2 separate regions of the Homo sapiens genome follow, and region 1 is linked to region 2. Evidence: promoter capture Hi-C in 16 types of primary human blood cells and fetal thymus (Javierre and others, 2016). All regions are on one chromosome and are shown on one strand. The core of a region is centred on a gene start or on the middle of the fragment in contact, and the rest is flanking DNA. Distances in the headings are between cores, read along the strand shown.

Evidence for each region. Contacts are between HindIII fragments. The CHiCAGO score rates a contact against its expected background, and 5 or more counts as called.
Region 1: a contact is called between a fragment that was not itself captured here and the fragment with the promoter of RORB in region 2, in 1 of 17 cell types (M1 macrophages). The highest score is 6.7, in M1 macrophages.

What each region holds. Positions count from the first base shown.
Region 1 is chr9:73,209,968-73,212,667 of GRCh38, reverse strand. No RefSeq gene overlaps it. Among named protein-coding and RNA genes, the nearest start is that of ANXA1, 59 kb to the right of the region's middle. The HindIII fragment of the contact is 8,255 bases long and covers 1-2,700 here.
Region 2 is chr9:74,495,975-74,498,674 of GRCh38, reverse strand. It overlaps RORB (RAR related orphan receptor B), which reads right to left and starts at 1,340. Exons shown (of 10, transcript NM_006914.4): 1 at 692-1,340. The coding sequence starts at 698. It overlaps RORB-AS1 (RORB antisense RNA 1), which reads left to right and starts at 122. Exons shown (of 5, transcript NR_125791.1): 1 at 122-433. RefSeq lists silencers at 1,108-1,402, 1,307-1,496, 1,492-1,704. The HindIII fragment of the contact is 5,400 bases long and covers 1-2,700 here.

The DNA.
Region 1 (2,700 bases), core at 151-2,650, 1.3 Mb after region 2:
TTGTTATATATTCATTTTTTGGCTTAGTAATCATTCATCTCTGTGCATTTTAATGTATTCTTTACCTATTCCACAAGTTGTTTTTGTTGTTGCTGTTGTTGTTTTTTGTTTTTTTTTTTTTTTTGAGATGGATGGAGTCTCACTCCATTGCCCAGGCTAGAGCACAGTGGCATGATCTCAGCTCATTGCAACCTCTGTCTCCAGGGTTCAAGCAATTCTGTGTCTCAGCCTCCCAAGGAGCAGGGATTACAGGCACCCACCACCACAACTGGCTAATTTTTGCATTTTTAGTAGAGACGGGGTTTTGCCATGTTGGCCAGGCTTGTCTCAAACTCCTGACCTCAGGTGATCTGCCCTGCTTGGCCTCCCAAAGTGCTGGAATTACAGGCGTGGAGCTACCGCGCCTGGCCCAAAGTTTTCTAAATGACTTACAATAACACATAAAGTGTATAAAATTTAAAAGGTGGCAAATAAAGCCAGACACAACTCAATCATAGATCAAAGTAATGAATGAGACTAAAAACAAGCCGGGTGCAGTGGCTCACGCCTGGAATCCCAGCACTTTGGGAGGCCAAAGTGGGTGGATCATGAGGTCAGGAGTTTGAGACCAGCCTGGCCAACACGGTGAAACTCCGTCTCTACTAAAAATACAAAAACTAGCTGGGCATGGTAGTGCATGCCTGTAATCCAAGCTACTCAGGAGACTGAGGCAGGAGAATCACTTGAACCCAGGAGGCGTAGATTGCAGTGAGCCGAGATCATGCCACTGCACTCCAGCCTGGGTGACAGAGCAAGACTCTGTCTCAAAAACAACAACAACAAAAACACATATCACAATGACCTACACATTTGTCATTGCTGGCTAGATAGTTGTCTATAAGCTATTTAATAGACAATGTACAAACAGCAAGGTTTTTAACCCAGAGCTACTTTCTTGTTCAATATGAGCAAAGATACCGAGGAAAGAATTGGAAACCTCTTCTAAAATCAAGGGGCCAAAGAGCATATGAGGATAATTTTGGTCACATTTTTCATAAAAATTATATACTGTTACCAGAAATATAAAGCACATCAACATATGATATGTATTCATCATATACAGAAATTCAGGGTGTGCATAGTCATGTGAGATTTCTCCTGCTTCTGAAATTCAAATAACTTTAAACTGCAGAAGGAAAGTCTGCTCTTATAGACTTATGCAATGCGTAGACATTACTCATGGAGAAGGTTCTCTACAAGGACAAACACATAAAAAAGAGGCATATGGATTAGATTAGAACTTTCTTGGTTCATAGCACACTTAATGTTTAATAATATTTCTATGATACCTACACCAAATTAATAGCTTACAGTTTCATTTATTAAGTGGTTAAATGAAACACTGAAAAAGTATTTATTTTCTAACAATTTAGTAACCATTTAAAAATATAATAGTACACACAAATATGAATAAAACATATTTTCTTTCTTTCACATGATGTCCTTTCCGTGGGAGATTGTAAGTCAATCTTACTTCCAGCTTCCATGCTGGCATTCCTTTGAGAACTATCCTTGGCTTCAAGGGCCCATGTTTCTCACCTGCAAGCAGGTGAGAAATGCCAGGGAATTCACATCCCCCGGGAGTACTTCCAATTAATAAGAGTTATGTACACCATGGCCAGAATGTTGTGTTCCCCTAGGATTCATATGTTGAAATCCTAACCCCCAAGGTGATAATATTAGGAGGAGGGGCCTTTGGGAAGTGATTACCTAATGAGGACTTTGTCATTATGGAAATTAATGGGATTAATGCCATATTAAAAAAAAATCCCAAGATTTTTTTAACCTTGCCCCTTCTGCCATGTTATGTTACAGTGAAAAGAGGTCCGTCGATGAACCAGAAAGGAGACCTTCACTTACTCACCAAATATACTGGCACCTTGATCTTGGACTTTTCAGCCTCCAAAACTATGAGAAATAATTTTCTGTGGTTGATAGGCCACTCACTTCATGGCATTTTCTTATAGCAGCTTGAACAGACTAAAACAATATATTAGGTTAGTGCAAATGTTATTGCAGCTTTGGACTGTGAATTTTAAATTATTATAACTAGGCTCAAACACATCTTTATTAATCATATAGGAACCATTACAATCAACACATTTTTGCCAAGGAGAAATAACTTTGTTTATTCCTGTAGTGTAAAAATCCGTGCTTCGGGATTTGATGAGCTCTGGAAAGCATTTTCTGCATCCTGCTGGTTGTGGAAGTATTTTCCCTTCAAAAAGATGTTGAGATGCTTAAAGAAGTGGTAGTCGGTTGGCAAGAGGTCAGGTGAATATGGCAGATAAGGCAAAACCTGATAGCCCAATTCGTTCTACTTTTGAAGTGTTGGTTGTGCGATGTGTGGCCTGGTGTTGTCATGGAGAAGACTCGGGCCCTTTCTGTTGACCAACGCCGGCTGCAGGCGTTGCAGGTTTTGTGCAGCTCATCGATTTGCTGAGCATACTTCTCAGATTTAATGGTTTTGCCGGGATTCAGAAAGTTGTAGTGGATCAGACTAGCAGCAGACCACCAAACAATGACCATGACCTTTTTTTTTTTTTTTTTTTAATTGGTGCAAGTTTGGCTTTGGGAAGTGTTTTGGAGCTTCTTCTCAGTCCAACCACTGAGCAGGTTGTTGCCAATTGTCACATACAATCCACTTTTCCTTGCATGTGG
Region 2 (2,700 bases), core at 91-2,590:
ACTTTTCCGGGGTCGCACTACTCCCTGGGCCGCGCGGGCTCGGGCACGAGGACCTGGCCAGGGCGCAGCGCCGGCACGAAGGCGCGCGCCGCAGAACTGTTTCCTCAGCCGCGTGCCGGGGAACTAACTGTTTCCTCAGCCGCGTCCAGCCTCGCAGCACTGCTCTTCTGCTTGCTACTCCAGCGAAGGGACATGCCTGCTGGCCAGGACGCTTAGTGGGCCTCGTAACCTGGCGAGTGTGTGCCCGCGCGTGTCCACCCTGCCCCCGGCCGGTGCGCCCCGCGCGCCCAAACCCGGCCGGCGACCACTGCGCGCCGGGCGCTTCCAAACTGCTCCTGTCCAGAGGCATCCCTCTTTCGGCTTTCTCCATCCCGCGTCCGCTTCCGCACCCGAGAGCGACAAGCAAAAAAGATTCAGTGCAACTCAAGGACTGGTAAGAACCAACTAGCCTGTCTCCCCTCTCCAAAAAAGCGCCCTCCCGCGTCCCTCCAGAACTCCCGAAAGACATCAACACCTTCCCGCAACTTTCTACGCCCAGGCCATTTGCAGCCCCACCTGCGAGAGCGAATTCGGGGAACTGCGCCTGGGCAACCTCTTTCCCTTTCTGCTGGGTGCCCTCCCCTCCCCCATCTCCCCGTCTGGCTGGAGTTGGCCGGACTCGGGGAGCCTCGGTGCCCGCAGACTCGCTTACCTCGCATGGTGTGGCCGCTCTCCCGCTCCGCGTAGTCATGAAGCTGCTCCCAGCCCGAACCCCGGAGAGCCCAAAAATCCCGCTCAGCACGAGTGAAGAAGGTGGTCGGCGAAGAGCTGCTCTGCCGAGAAAACCATCCCTTTAGGCGGACGCCGTGGCTGCAGGGTGACGTTTGCCGCCGCCGCCGCTATGTTAACAGTTTTGATGTTGGTGGTGACTGTTTTGATGATTGTTTGTTTGTTTGTTTGTTTTCAGGAAGGGTGAAAAAAAAATGTTCTGGCTGTCTGGTGCCTGGGTTTTGTTTTGGTTTTGTTTTTCTTTTTCTTTCTCTCCAATGTGCTTGCTTTTTAAAAAATGCCACCGCCTCCGGCTCAGAAGATTTCTTTTGTGATCACTTGGACTGAGGAGGAGGAGGAAGGGCAGCAGCAGGAGGAGGAGTTGGTGGTGGTTTTGTTAGTTACAAAGAAGAGGGAGAAGGAACAAGGGGGAAAAAAGGAAACAGAAAGAAAAGAAAGAAAGGCGGTGTGGATGGCAGAGCATGTGCGTTTTCACATGACATCTGTGCCTGTTAGCGGATCCACAATGTGAATTTTCACTGTTCAGTTACAGGGAGGAAGGGAGCAGCGAGAGAGAAAGAGAGGGGAGAGATGGAGAGAGAGCGCTGAGAGGGGCTTATACGCGAGGGCGGGCTTGGCCGCGACTTCCAGGCCCCGCCTGCTGTCAGCGCAGCCGCCAATCAGAGCCCAGCAGCGCCTGGAGAGGCTGGGACCGCGGGGAGGGGACGTGGTGGAGGCGGGGGGTGGGGCGGGGGCTGGGGACCAGGGAGTCCGAGGTGGCCGGGGCTGCGACGGGGAATTCGAGACTGTCCGAACTGGGCAGAGAAGAAGGGCCGACCGGGAGAGTCGGGCAGATCCGCAGGTGACAGGCACTTCCGACTCCAGCAGAGAAGGGGACACTGATCACGGAAAACCTTCGGAGGCAAGAGACGCGGGGCTCCCCGGGTTTCACGTTCGGTCCCTGTCTCGCAACCCCCGCGGGCCCGGCAGAGTTAGTTTTGAATTTATGGCAGCGCTTTGCCGAGCGCTATTTGGGTAAACTTCGGTCTCCGGCGGGGGTTTCCGTGGGCAGGTGGTTTGGGTGTTGGTGGTAGAATAATGCAAACCCACTTTCATCACTTTTAGCACAACTAAAATGCAGTCCCATGGAAGTAGCTGTCCCCTTCCTTTAAAAACGTCCGTCAGATGCTCCCTGACCCTCTTCTAAAAAAAAAAAAAAAAGAAAGAAAGAAAGAAAAAAACGTGTATATGTTCTTTTGTCTGGGAAATTGATTTTTATTAGCATTTGGAGACTCCCCTGGCGATGGACTACAGGACTGAAGGAGAACAGCTCAAATTGGCGGTGTAGCCACCTTACTAATTCAAGAGAAATGGCTGTTGCTAGAAGGTGTGATTGCAGGGTGCTCTTTAGAAAGGTTTTAGAAGGAAGACATTGTTAACTTTAGTTAGAGGCGATTGGTAACTGAACATAGATAAACTTACTTGTATTCCTTAGGTGAAAATTGTCATCTATGACCATTTATTTGTATTTTGATAAAAATCTAATACATATATCCAAACTGTTCCTTTGCAAGTTTTTCCAACTCAGTTGACAAAATAAGCATATAGATGATTACATCTACTTCCTTCCCAATAGTAGGGAACTTCTTAAATACTTGAGTTAATTGAACACCCTAAAAGATTGGGAGGTGAAAATATTTGCCTCATTCACTCAGTCTTGAGGCTGGGAGATGTCTACTCATTAGCATACCTGTTGGCACAGCAGGCCTCATCATCATTTAAGTATCCAAATAATTTGATTTTTGACTGGTATTTATTCATGATATGTCATGTAACACAAAGTACAATGTAGAATTGGCAGTTATTTAGTTAATTAGGTCGCTCTACACTGCCAAGTAGTTTTTTCCTTCCTGATTAAATGAAAAATGAATTATCTGCTGAATTTTCACCAGT